2 separate regions of the Homo sapiens genome follow, and region 1 is linked to region 2. The links are contacts of gene promoters, found by promoter capture Hi-C in blood cells and fetal thymus (Javierre and others, 2016). All regions are on one chromosome and are shown on one strand. Each heading gives the region's core, a stretch centred on a gene start or on the middle of the fragment in contact. The rest is flanking DNA. Distances are from core to core; before and after follow the strand shown.

What was found. The method cuts DNA at HindIII sites, captures the fragments that hold promoters and counts their contacts. A CHiCAGO score of 5 or more calls a contact.
Region 1: the fragment with the promoter of SLC17A6 here is called in contact with the fragment with the promoter of SLC6A5 in region 2 in 1 of 17 cell types (M2 macrophages); the score reaches 5.8 in M2 macrophages.

Annotation. Positions count from the first base shown.
Region 1 is chr11:22,332,845-22,340,182 of GRCh38, forward strand. SLC17A6 (solute carrier family 17 member 6) reads left to right here and starts at 5,537. Exons shown (of 12, transcript NM_020346.3): 1 at 5,537-5,775. The coding sequence starts at 5,690. It overlaps SLC17A6-DT (SLC17A6 divergent transcript), which reads right to left and starts at 5,378. Exons shown (of 4, transcript NR_186351.1): 1 at 5,151-5,378. The HindIII fragment of the contact is 7,348 bases long and covers 515-7,338 here.
Region 2 is chr11:20,593,808-20,601,097 of GRCh38, forward strand. SLC6A5 (solute carrier family 6 member 5) reads left to right here and starts at 5,801. Exons shown (of 16, transcript NM_004211.5): 1 at 5,801-5,868. The coding sequence starts at 5,866. The HindIII fragment of the contact is 1,386 bases long and covers 5,083-6,468 here.

The DNA.
Region 1 (7,338 bases), core at 4,287-6,786, 1.7 Mb after region 2:
TTCTCATTGTAAATTATAAATACAGAGTAGATGCACAGAGAAAAGGAAACATTGCATATATGACTACATACATGTGTTTTTGGTAATTAAAATATATGTTTGAGGTAACAATATAGGCTTATTTAATACTTCCTGCTTCCAGTTTTTTAATCAGACAGTTCACAGAGAAGTCAAAAGACGTCTTACACCAGGCCACTAAATATAGCAGTGTAAAGTATTGGGCTATGTGCACAGATTGTCGTTTTTAAGACAAACTGAATTATTTCTTCTCTTTCCAGCTCTAAGGAAATTATATAATGATAATTTCTTAGAAATTGTCTCTGAGGCTAACACTGCAAAGTAAAATCAAATAAAGCTGAACTAAAAATTGTCTGCTTAAAAACCCTTGGTAAGAAAAAAGTCACAGATGAATTCTAGGGCTTATTTGTATAGCTTCGAACTGAAAGAAGTGTGTAATTATTAGGCTGAACATTTACTTAGGAATTCAAAGTCAAATAAAGCCATACTGTAAAAAAGCTTTTCAAAGCAGTTTTGTCTTTAGGAATGTCCACTCTCTACATATAATATAAAAAGCTATAAAACTGTATTGAGTCCATTTATTTACTATATCCCAGAAAAGGGCCTAGCCAACAGTAGATAAAAATACCTATTGAGTGAATATTTTTTGAAATAATAAACTGAAGATGTTGCATTCAAAATAGCCTCAGAAACAGTCACCTTAAGGTTCGTTTTTCTCTTTTTGAGGTGGGGTCTGGGTATATTTCCCAGATGCACTTCAAACTTCTGGGTTCCAGCAATCCTCCCACTTCTGCCTTCCTAGTAACTGGGACTACAGATGCACACCACCACCTTGAGGTATGTACTTGAGGTATTTCTTAAAAATCAGTTTGCCTTAAAAATACCACAGAAATAGTTTTTGAATGATCTTAAATAGAATGCCTTTAAAACATGTTTGTATTTTTGGTAATAGGGAGCAAAACATCAAATTTATGTTACTATTTCAAAATATTTATAAAATTATCACAATTTATTCTATTGTATATCATTTTTACCTATGTGATTACCACACCATTACTAAATCTTAATACAGTGAAGTTTCCTTTAGTACTAGTTTTTTGGTTAACTGGGGGATTCTCAATCAACTTATTTCTAAATACATTTAGTACTAAGACAACTGCAAATGTGTTGCCCACAAAAAAGACTTTATAGTTTCAGATGTAGATTTAATTTAACAAATATCCAAAAGAAGAAAGAAGAAAGAAAGAGAGAAAGAAAGAAAGAAAGAAAGAAAGAAAGAAAGAAAGAAAGAGAAAGAAAGAAGAAAGAGAGAGAAAACAGTAGGTGTAATTGCATAATTAAGGACCACAATTGTCTCTAAAATATTAACATATCCTTCCACCAGAGGGCAACATTTGCAAGACATTTAAATGATTACTCAAAAGTATTTCCTCCCACAGGGATATAAACAAATAGAAACCTATTACATTGCTGTTGGCTAATACCTTATGTACATCTTGAAAAATAGTATGGATACAATTATTTAAACAATTGCTTATAAAACTCAGTGTATACATATAGTGAAACAACAAATAAGGTAACTCTTCTTTAAATATGTAAAAAGAACTTTCAGAAAGCACATTTCTACATATTAGTATTTTTTCAGTTTATTATTAATCATTTAACTCAAATATAATAAAAAAAACTTAGGATGGGAGAAACAAAAGAAAATAAGTTTTACATCTTTTTACATCTAAAGACTTTTCATCTAAAGTCATGAAAAGGCATAAAATTTTACAAGCAGAAAGGATAATAGAAACCACACGATACAAGCCTTCATTTGTGCCAGTAAGCAAACTGGCTTATTAGTGTTCGATGATTGATACAAAATTGCAGAGATGATAATCAGTGGAACCAGGACCCAAACTCAGGTAAACTGATTTCACATTTCATACTCCGAGATGTTGATGTTCAAAATGTGATCCTTAGGCAAGCAGTTGTAGAAACGTGTTACAGTGGTTGAATCTTGGGCACCACTCTAGACCTATTGAATCAGAATCTGTATTTTAACAAGACCTTAAACTGTGAGAAACTCCTCTAACCTGAGCTGTTTTCTCATCACCAGTTACATGACTTCAGGTAATTACTAAATCTCACTTTCCTCCTCAATAACATGGGAATACAACTATTTTAGTTTAAGGAATAATTATAAGGAATAAATACGTTTATCATGTAAATAAAAGCTACTCATAAATTGTAATATTGCACACATATTATATTAGTTATATTCAGTGAAAACTTCTCCTTTTATTGTTAACAGTTCTTGACAAGAGGGACAATTCTTCCCCTAGAAGAAAAGTGGTCTAATAATGCAATTCAGGACTTGTTATAATTGGATGTAAGTTATTGGGGATAAAGGAGGGTGTCAAGAGAAAGGAAGCCTTTTCTGATATGCTTAAATTAATATCTTACATATAACTACTAGTGTTTCTTTGCATAAAGATAAATCTGATGAATTTAGGGCTGCAAAAGTACACGTTCAGCGTTTGCAATTTGTGTCCACTCATGAAGAAAATCTGTTGGGTTAGCAAATGGTGTCTGAATATATGTTTCTTACACTGGGAGCAGCTATGGGTTTAAAGCCAGCCTAAATGACATTCTTCAGTCGCAGGTGGTCTAGTAACGTTTCTTGTAATTTTCCACACATAACATTTTTCATTGTTTATGAAAATACCATTAAATACACCCCTTCTGGCTAGGGTGCTATCCAAATACCACCACTCCACCCTGCCAAACTCCACTGGGCTGCCATCATCTTTATAGAACTACATTTCTTTTAACTATTAAGACAGACAAGAAAACATTGTCTCTTGAAATATATTCTGGACATTTTCACTCCCGGGCTGGGTTATTTAACTTGTGTAATTTCACCCATAATTGTTTGAAATTGTATTTTTGTGTCTATCTCCCAAGTAGCTTGTGAGATATTTCAGGGAGAATTCCCAGATCTAGTATTATTCTTGACACTCAATGAATATTTTTAGAATGAGTAAATCAATATTACCAGTTATTCTGATTCAGTTGCTCACCCTATTATCAAGAGAGTGGAAGAGAGAGGAGGATGACATTCATTTCAATAAAGGTGAATATAACTGTTTAAAAACAATGCTTTTGTGTTGGATTTATATTGCTTAGTGTCCCCTCATATTTGTGTATTGGAGACTTAGCTATCATGTTTACTGATGGTTTAGATAGATCTCTAGTCATTTGTGGTGCAACTTAAGCTGGAGTGCTTAGGAAAATCATTTACATATCATCACCCCAGCTTCACAAATATTTGTTGTAAATTCTATTTTTTTGTATAACTTCCCAGAATTCCAAAATCATTAATATCTCTAAATAAATATAATTTAATGAACTTAGTTATTAAAGATTTGAAAAATACAGATATTTTGAAAACACCTAGATAAGTCAAGTCCTGAATAGCTTGAATCTTTTAATCTTTTTCTTTTCTTTTTTTTTTTGCAAGGAAATAGTTTAATGAGGGTTTTTTTTTTGTCTCCTTATACTTGATCTTGAGAAATAGATAGTATTCTGAGGCATCCCATGGTTTTAGAGAAAAATTAAATTCACTGTTTTATTGAAGATACATATTTTAACACAAATTTATCAAAAAAGATAAAAATGTCTTCATTATCCTTTTCTTTATTATATTTCACAATGGAAATAATTTGACAACTATCAAACTTAATAATGGCAGATGGTTTTAGCTACTTTGACATTTTTTTCCAGCTATCCATTCAGTGAATACATAGCCATTATATCATTTGAACTATTCAGGTAATATTCTTATTTGATTCTCAATTTAGATCCATATTTTTGAGATTTTGTCTCAGGATCCTAAGTAAAATTGACTCCCTCTGTTGGCTTATGTGACATCCAAGGTTTTGACCTTGAAAATGTGGTTCAAGGCCAGTCTGTTCTGTAAGCATTGGCCTGAATTGTACTTAAGAAGTTTGTGATTCATGTGAAAGAGATTAATAATTTACATTAATCTAGCAGTTTTCTTGCTTGCTTAATGAGATAAATTCATTGATGCTGTACCTGTATATATAAAGCCAAAACTCTTACATGAATGTCTTTCAAAATTTATGCTTTAGGAGAAGGACATACAAAGAAAAATAAAATAAGATTTGAATGGAATATATGTAAATTAAAATAAATCTTTTTAAAAATAAATCTTTAAATTATCAATTACAATTTGTTGGCAAGCACAAGGTATAGCCACATATTTCATCAGTATATTGGTATTTCAGTAGTGTATTGTAAATTAGTTAAATAAAGATGCTTAAAATTCCAAGGAATTTATATTAAATTAACTGTATTTTATTTAATCAACTTCACTGAGTTTATAGCTATTCTTTTTTCTTCTCTCCATACCTCCCACCTCTTTTTCTTTATCTCTCCTTTCCTCTATTCTTCATTCTCTCCCTTTCTTTCTTTCATCTTTTTCCTGTCAGGAGTTAAAACAAACACATGAACAATGTAATTATGTATTTTGTGTGCACATATTTTATATTCAAGGGAGCCTAGGTGTCTTGGAACACCACAAGCATAAGTTAAATATGTTGAAATCTTTCTTCCCTGCAATACTGGCATCAGCGTGCTGGACAAAACGTAGCAAACTAGAAGTAACTTGTGAATTTTTAATAAAGTTGTCTTCCCTAGCAGAGCTAAATGCACCATTCTCCCTGCAAACTCTGGAGATGATGACATCTTCCCAATGGTTTCCATAGCATCCGTTCCTGAAGAGCCCCCGTATGGTCCTTGGTCAGGGCGATCCGCCCAGCTCCCCTAGAAAGTTGGCAACCTAGCTAGCCAAAAGAAGAGTCCCCTATTCCTGAAACTTACTCTGTCCGTGGTGCTGAAACATTGTACCGAGACCCGCCCAGACGGGCGCTGTCAGCCGCTGAAAAAAAAAATCTTCCCCGAGGCTGCCCAAATCAGAACTGTGTATCTTTTATTTACTCACGTCCTCAAAGAGCAGCAAGCCTTCTCCATCTTAATTTGACTCTACCGCAGAGCAGACTTACGCTGGCGTGATGGGAGGAGATCATGGGCAGAGAGGAAAAACTAATAGCAGCATTGCTCACCTGAGACCTGAGATGCTCCCATGAGTTTTGAATATGCTCTGCTCCTTACAGCAAAGACACCATTTTTAAAAGTACCATTCTTTTGACTTTGCTGTTCCCAAGGCTTCTGTGATATTCCGGCCCCTCCGTTTAAAAGCCATCAGATTTGAGAGCAATAAGTCTTCAAAACCGGGAATTTACATTGTTTTTCAGCTGACCGACTTCCAGGAAAAGGACTCAACCGCATCTACCCAAATACCGTGGCACTGCTTGCGCTCTTTGCCACCGGATCCTCCCCTTCCAATGAGACTTTCTGATTGTGTCTACCAACTCTCCTATTAGGAAACCCGTGGGTTGCATGCAGCTATTCTGTTGTATTCTCATTCTCACTCTCCCTCCCTTCTCTCACTCTCACTCTTGCTGGAGGCGAGCCACTACCATTCTGCTGAGAAGGAAAAGCCCGCAACTACTTTAAGAGATTAAGACAATATGCGCAATCCTCGCCTTTCCTAGCAATCACTATTTAAATCTGGCAAGAACTGACAACAGTCTTTGCAAGAATGGAATCCGTAAAACAAAGGATTTTGGCCCCAGGAAAAGAGGGGCTAAAGAATTTTGCTGGAAAATCACTCGGCCAGATCTACAGGTAAGACAAAGCGAACACTTGCTTACCTGGGGCTCAGCATGAAAAAATCTGCAGGGCCGTTTCCGTAAACCCTGGTGGCTCAGAAAGATTGTAATATGATCGGAAAGTCTTTTTGTTGCCCATTGCTTGGAGCGGGGGTGCTCTGGAAACCTGCTTATTAATGCAGGAATGTTGCACTAAATGAACCTGTCTGGTGTGTGTGTGTGTGTGTGTGTGTGTGTGTGTGTGTGTGTTTGATTTTTGCTTTGGTGCCTGCAGAGTTTTTGTCCTTTACTACACAGGATTTATCTTCTTTACAGTTAAGAAATGGCCAGCCCCTGCTCAAACAGCGTTTCTTTTGGTGCTTATAGATACCCCGAATTAAATTCCTTTGATGCAGACAAATGAATATAAAACACAACCATCTAAAAAAATAACCAAGAAATTCCAAAGAGTAATGGTTTATATATATATATATGTTATATATATATGTTATATATATATGTTATATATATATGTTATATATATATGTTATATATATATGTTATATATAGTTATATATATATGTTATATATATATGTTTTATATATATATATATATATATATGTTAGAGAGAGAGAGAAAGAGAGAGGTCTCAGCTTCAAAAGCATAGTAGAGAATCCCCTAGTGAAATATGTCTTCTGTATTGAATGAAGAAGAATCAAAATATATCAATAATTGATAGTTGAAGCAATTCCTTTCTCTGAGCCTGAAACAATGTATATGCATTTTTAATTATTTTCATCTCCTAGAGTCTATTTCTTGCATAGGAAATGTCAATGCCTGGAAGAACAGCCATAAATATAACAAGCAACATTACTTTGAAAGTCCTAGAAATGATTTAATTATTTAATCCTCCTGTAGTCACTATACTAATTATGCTGTAATTTGCAAAACTTTAAATCATTTCAAGTATGTTATATGGATACAGCTTTTCTTAATAATTAGAGCAAAATCAAGACGACAGGGCAGACATAAAAGGAAAAAGAATTACAAAGGAGCACTAATTTTAATATTTGGGAAATTGAAGTCTCTGTAAATGCATGAGAAATGTAAAGAAAATGATCAAACCACTCCCAGATTTTCCAAATCTCTTCAGGTTTGGCGGGCTTCATGTAGGCACGATTATGCACCTATGCGGCAGTAGATACCGCAAGGGCCCTGCAGTCCCACAGCTACCATGGAAAGGGATGTTCTTTCCCAGTACAACTGCCATCCGGTGCAGAGCTCAACTTCGTATATTTGAGCACACGAAGCAAATGCAGGAAATGAAAAAAAAAAACCGCATTGGCTGAATTTTTTTCTCCCAGTAAAAATAAATTGCAATGTTTTCTAACATTGTGATCGGACTTTAAGAATAAACATTAACCTAGCCACAAATACCTTTATGACTTATTCTCCAGGTGCTACGTTATAGAATTCGGAAGCCTGACATTTTTCTTCGGGTGGCCTCAAACTTCTTGACAGCAGTATTCCAAGCTATGCATATTTGAAATTAGTTTAAAAATTTCACTTGCTTTACCCGTGTGTGTGAAAACAATTGGG
Region 2 (7,290 bases), core at 4,551-7,050:
TAGCAGAGCAGCATCATATTTTCCAAGACTGTGTCCTCTGAAGGTCTTAATTATGCCCTGGTTCCACCCCAGCAGAGCTAAGAGATAGAAACATGATGACCTGAGGAAGGAGGATTAGCCACATATTGGTAGCTGGGATCCTTAATTAACCGAATTCATTTTTCTGAGCTCTACTCTTCAGAGAAAGACAATAAAATAGGCGTAGGGGTAATACTTCCTAATGAAAGCCTCGGTGAATATTCTCATTAATTAAAGCAATAGATTCTAGTGCTGAATTCTTTCCTTTAAATTTTTTATACATATTTTACATAAATTTATAAGTATGACTAGTAGAACTATTTTTGTTTAAGTACAATCTTTGTCACCCTCCGTCCACTTTTTCTGCTTGGCTCTTCCCTCGTCTCCTGAGCTCACATCAATGCCCACATTGTCTACCAGTAATCTTACCTACTAACTTATGTGTGTGCGTCACATTTTACTAGAACACATACACACACACGCGCGCACACACACACACACAGACAGAAGAGAGAGGGAGAGACAGACAGACATGGCATTTTAGTTACTATTTATTTTATAAAAATAAGATTGTATTATACATACTTTAATGTATCTGGCTTTTCTCAATACATCATGAAAATCTCTCCAATCTCTGAATGGTTCTAATTCAATCTTTTTAACAGCTACAAATCATTCCACGCTGCAGATACTCTAATGATCTAATGTGGCTATTTCTTTTTTCCGCAGGCTTTCACTTTATCAACTATGCTATAATAAACACTCTTGCACTATGGTTTTTTATTTCTCTGGGATAGATTTCTAAGAGTGAGATTGCTGGGTCAAAGGATAATATAGTTCTTTTTTCTTTCTTTCTTTTTTAAAGAGATGCCACTAGAATTTGTTTCTAATTTGTCAAATGACCTTGAGTACTCACTTTTCCTCCCTGGACCTGGAACTCTGCTTTCTCACTGATAAGGCAGGCATGTGGAACTATAGATGACCTTGAACTCCTTTTCATCTTGTCATATACTTCTCTGCTTCTGCGCTAGCACCCACTGCCCTGTGTTTTGCTGCAGTGAAGTGAGAATCATCATTACTGCTGACTCAGGAACAAGCGTTCTGCCTGTCTGAGTCATGGAATTTTGGACCTGCATTTTGCACAGACTGATTATTTAGCTGAACCATTGATTTCCAAGTATGAGCTCTTCTGAAATGCTATGATGAGGGATGCTTGCTTTGATTAACTTGTGTTTCCCTGACACCCCTGGGTTCAGATGAGAACTGAACAGTGAGGCTGATTATGAAGCTCCAAGCTTCTGTCCTTTCTTTATACTGAAATTTACCTTCATATAAACAAAAAGTGCCTCAGGAAAAACTCATAGCAGCTTCTGTATTTGAGCACTTTTCCTGGATGCTCCTAATTTTCATTTAGTAAAGGTAAATACTTGATTATTGGGCGACCAAACACTGGATGAGGAGGGAAAATGTTGCACAATCATTACGTATTTTGTAAGGTTTTCTATTCTGCATAAGTCTACCCATATTAAACCTTCCGACCCAGGGAGAGGGATTTGTCTTATTTGCTAATTTTGAGAGGCTTCAAACATATGTTTCCTTTAGACTGAATAATATTGTTAACAATAGCTTATTGAAAGTATGCCGGGTAGCCAATCTCAATCTAGGCACTTCGCATGCGTTCTTTCGTTTAATCCTCAGGCCACCCTTGAGGTTAGGTTAATTTTTTTTTTTTTGAGACGGAGTCTCGCTGTCTCCCAGGCTGGAGTGCAATGGCGCCATCTTGGCTCACTGCAACCTCCGCCTCCCAGGTTCAAGCTGTTCTCCTGCCTCAGCCTCCTAAGTAGCTGGGACTACAGGTGCGTGCCACCATATTCAGCTAATTTTTTGTATTTTTAGTAGAGACGGGGTTTCACCATGTTAGCCAGGATGGTCTCGATCTCCTGATCTCATGATCCGCCTGTCTTGGCCTCCCAAAGTGCTAGGATTACAGGCGTGAGCCACTGCGCCGGCCGAGGTAGGTTAATTTTTATTATGCTCATTTTACTGATGGGGAATTTCCCCCAAGGTCACAGAGCTAGGAAGTGGTGCAGTGTGTCTGCAGAGCCCACATTCTTAGCACAGAACAACACTGCAATGGAGCTGGGCAGTAGTAGACAAGTGGGACAAAAATACGGCATGGCTTCTTGACTATCGGCCATGTCACCTGAAACCCACACTGAGCCCTCACATCCATCATCTATGGAAGTTGTAGGTGTTAACGACTCCCATGTTAAAATCACATAAACATAGACATAGGCGCTCATACTCTATCCCTCATGTGGTGGATGGAGAGGAGCCAACACAGACAGGGACTCAAAGCTAGGCTCTGCCCTCTGACCCTGGACACGTTCCTTCGCCTGTCAGTCGCACTGGCAGCTCTTTCTTGCATGCTGCCCTGAGGACCAGAGGAGGCTGGTGCCACAGTGCCCCGCTAACGCCAGAGCAATAGCTTGTAAAACACCGGTATCTTTCCCTCCTCTCTCCTTCCTTAGTGCAAAGGAGGGCAGCGACTTGAATGCGGTAGGCCGCCCTCTGGGCCCTCTCCTGTCTGGGTTGCAGCTGGCGTTTCGTGTCTTGGCAGTAACACTGGCGTCAGGACTGTCACCGGATGGCCTGTTTTTCAGAAGGCTACCCCCATACAACCGAGTGGACACGAGTTTTCAAAAATATTTATTTGCTTATCTGCAAGGCAGGAGAGGAGGGAACAAAGTGATCGAGGACAAAATCAATTACTATTTTTCATCTTTGACAAAGTAATTAAGGCCGTAGTGACTGGCTAATTCAGACCGAATGGCTGCGCGGTGATGGATGCGGATTTACGGCCTCCTTGGCTGCGGCGCGCTGGGCCTGATTATCACTATAAACAGGCGTCCGCGGAGGGCGGGGGCGGAGGCCCGCGTCTAGAGGACGTGCGGCTGGTCTTCTTCTTCTTCTTCTTCTTTTTTTTTGTTTTTGTTTTTTAATACTGCGGTTCCATCCTCTGCGCTTCGTAGGCGCTGACACACACCCATACGCACGACCTGCTGCCCCAGGGCCTGGCTTCCTGCCTCCGCATGCTCTCTCCCGCCCCTGAAGCCCAACCTTCAAGCCCTGCTGATGCCCGCCCCTCCGTCCCAGCGTTGGCCTCATAGCGAACCCTCTTAGGCCTCTCCGTTCCAGACCCTCCCTCCATTCTCCACGTAGCCCCTCCCTTCTAGAATCTTGCGGCTGAAAGTGGGGGCAGGCGGGGAGCCCGAATAGCGCCTCAGCCAAACCCCGCAGCCGTTCCTGCGCGTCACCCGCCTCTGCAGAGCCTGACGCGCGGCAGTCTCCACGCCGGAACCCAAGTGCTCACTGGGCCGGGGAGGGCCAGCGGGCGAAATATCAGGCCTGGGGGCTGAGCGGGGGCGCTGGGCGTCACTCAGGCCCAGGGCCGCAGCTGGGGGAAGTGAGAAGGCCGGCAGGATTCTGCCCACTCTGCGCAGTTCTCCCTTCCTCCCGGGGCAGCCAAGTCTGTGCGCCCTGGAACGTCCGGGCGCCGCGTAGACTCTCCATTCGCACCTGGCCCTTTGCGGGGGCTGCTCAAATGCAAATTGGGAAACTGGCCAGAACCTTCCAAAGTCGTGACTGTCCCTCGGGGAAGTCGGCCGGGGAACCGCAGAGGGAGGCCTACACCGATCTTTGGGCCCGCCTCGTGGTACCGCTCCGGCCGATCGCTCTCTGAGCCCGAGCCTGCCTGCCAGGCCTGCCTTCTACAGTTCTCGCATTCGTCTTGAGCCCTCTCGGAAACTGGGGACTGTTTAGGCAGAAACACTCGTAGGTCCCCTTGGCGTCCCCCAAGATGCCAAGAGCCTGCGGGGTGCTTCTCAGCGCCAGCCGGAACTTGAGCAGGCACCCCTGCGGAATTCTCAGTCCCACCCACTCAGACGACCCTCCTCCAGCCAGAGTCCACCACAGCCCACCCTACCCTCTTAACCCTCGTTCCCGACCTCTCCCTACGAGCGGGCCCCGGGGAGAGAGCGACTGACCCTAGCGACAGCCCGGCGGGAGGTGGTTGGGATCTTCTCCAGGGTTCAAAAGCGACTTTCTGAGCCCCAATTTCCTCAGCTTTGCAATTGGTATAGTTTCTGAAAGGCCATTGCTAAATCTAACCGAGATAATTCATGGATATCCCTTGCACAATGGTTGAGTATTGAGATCTCAATAGACGTTAGCTCAAAACTGCAATAAAAAGCGACCTGAAATCCTCAAGGCGTCTCAAAAGAAAGATCTCCTCCTCCTGCCCCCACCAAAGGCAATGCAGACCGTGTGTCCCCAGCCAGCTGCCCTTTAGAGGGGCTAGGCGGGAAAGCCAACCAGCGGAGGCATCCAAACACTCTCGGGCTCTCCAGAGGAGCAGGAGGGTGCCCCTTAGTGCCCCCGGCGCCCGCCGCAATCTGCCACTGCAGCCTACGCCTGCGGCCGCGGCCGCCGCGGCATTGTCCTCCCGCCGCGTGGGACGGCCCAGCCGCTGGCGACGGCGCGCACCCCGAGGCAGTGGGCTGGGCTGTTGGCAGTAGGGAAGGGAAAACGTGCTGTCTGTGGCTCCTCATCCCCGAGGCCAGGGGTTCCCCGAGCTAGACCGGCAAGGAAGGAGAGAAGGGAAGCATTTTGCTGATAATCCCCTTCTAGTCTCCAAACTACACCTTCTTTGTAAAGGCGTTTTTTCCTCTTCTGATTATAGCTATTGCATTGTACACACAACAAGAAAGTCCATCTTTTTATCGCCATGGCCACCCCCACTCCCATCCCCGCCACAGTACGGTTGAACATCCTGGCATGGCTTTGCAGATTGCCAGCTCTCATTCCCCCTCCCCCGCATTGCTGGGCATCCCGATTTGGACGGTCTCTAAGGTCCCGCGCTGCCAAATCAGGCCTGGCTCTTGTAGGATTTTATTGAAAGGACTGTAAAGAAAGAATGGGTTTCCCTTGACTTTGAAAGTGACCTAAGAACTAGGTCTGTGTTGGAAAAACTTCGTTTTTCTTTCTCTAAAACGTCTTCAGAAAAGCTTAAAAATACAATGAAAAAGGTCAGTTATACTCAGAATTTTCTCTTGATTGTGATAACAGAAATAGGAACGGAAATACCAGATCACAATTTTTAAGCAAAAACCCCAGGATTCCTCCAAGACTGACTGTCTGGAAGGGTAGGGATGTGAGAATCTGAAGTCCACATACATGCTAGGTAGGTACACCTTGATAAATGCAGGACCCATGCCTGCTTCAGTCATCGCAGAGCTGTGGGGCTATGCGCAGACCCTCAACCTCTTTCGGAGTAATATTTTCGGAATCCCTGAAGATAAGGGGGGACAGCAATGGAATCTAGTGAAAGGGAAAGAATAGACAGTGATTTAACCCCCTCCTTCCTCCTCTACAGCCCGATCCACTCTGTTGGCGGCTGCGCCTTGCCTTGGGTGCAGTGGGACGTGTCCCTCCCATGTTTCCCTTAATTAGGAGGAGGCAAACTTCTGTCTTCCCCTCCTGCCGGTTTCGGTTTAGTAATCAGACCACATGAGTCACGCCAAACACGCAGCCCCCTCCCGCTGGAGTGACAACTGGCCAGCATACTCTAGGCTGTTGTCCCTTTAAAACTTGAATCCAAGGGGGTAATGATTTATCAAACTTGTATTATCAAGAAAATGTCAAACCAAGGGCACCTTGCTTTGCACTGACGCAAACCCGGCCTTTCCCAAGGAGATATAGAAAGCGCCTCTCCTGCCTGAGCCAAACCCAGTCTTGTCAATAGCGGGTTTCACCCTCCACCAGTTCAGTCTGTTGCCTGTGTCAGACATGGTGAGTGTTTGCTTTTGTTCTTTCAAGAGGAAAGGGGGCTGAGGGGACAGGGAAAGCAGATTCGTTTTGGCTATTTCTTTTGGAGATGTCTGTGCATTGGGTGGGGGGAAAGGGGGCGACGAGGAGAACAATTCTCGCAGCCCTAGGTATTTGTACTTGTGAGCGTCACCTGAGGTCGCAAAGAGGTTTCCTAGGCTGTAGAGCTGAGAGGTTGGCTGTGGCTCCTAAAGACCCGATCCCGGGCACTGTCCTCGGTGCTGAAAAGCCAGATGCCGGTACAGAGGCGAGTTGCTCTGGGTCCTAGAGGCTACTGAGACAAATGCTGGCTGAAGCCGAGGTACCTAGATTTGTGCAAATCGAGGAGTTCTATTCTGCGTGTTTGTGAAAGGGGGTTAGACGAGAGGAGTGCGGTGGAGGCGAAGATAATAGGATTATTCTTACAGTGTAATAATAATTATTGGTGCTAATGTTTAGGAAGCCGTGAAAGATAACACGAGGGGAGAAAGTGGATAGAAAAACCACCGCTGGCAGTTCTTTTCATTTGAAAGTGAATTGGGAAAAAGCGAATAAAAATTAGTCATGAGTTTTGGTACTCAAGCAAGCTTAGAGTTGTGAAGGATATTAGACTCCTGTGAATAGTTACGCAAAAAAGAAGAAGAGGAAGAAGAAGAAGAAGAAGAAGAAGAAGAAGAAGAAGAAGAAGAAGAAGAAGAAGAAGAAGAAGAAGAAGAAGAAGACCTAAACAAAAGAACAAAAAGCTTTGCATATTCTTTTCCATGTCTGGGAATCTGGAAGTGAATACGAGTTGTGTAAGATAACAAATCTAGTTACTACTCTGTGTCTTAAATTTAGTTTATTATCGTTGTAGGTTTTTTTGTGGTTATTTTGATCGTGATTCTTAACCTTGTCTTTGCTACCTGGCGGGAGGAGGTGGGTTGTGGAGCGCTGGGACTCAACCAATTTGGCCTCAAGCGCTCGCAGGTGCCAGGGCATCAGCTTTGTGGCCACAGCTTGTCTATGGGGGAAAAAGGCAGTGTGCATTGTTGAATGACAAAGGAAATGGGGCGGAAAATTAAAGAATCTTTCTACAGTGGTGATGGGGATGCGGGCACCCACAGCTGTGATGTGGAATCCAAAGAGGGAGGGGAGCTCATGACTCCAGGGCTATTTCCATTCCCCCTTTACCCTTACAAAATTACATTTCTACCTCTTTTCTTAGTTCATCCTCCACTAGGGAGGGAATATTAGCTTCTTTTTGTCATCTGGTTATTGATGAAACGGGCAAATTGAGAAATACTGATTGCAGCCTTTCTTTTAAAAAAAGTTCAGATTCCAATTTGCTTCCCCAGATATTGTGTCTGGACCTGAGTTGCGAACGTCTCCATATCTAGATACAGGTATTTTAAAAGCTGTTGTGACTTT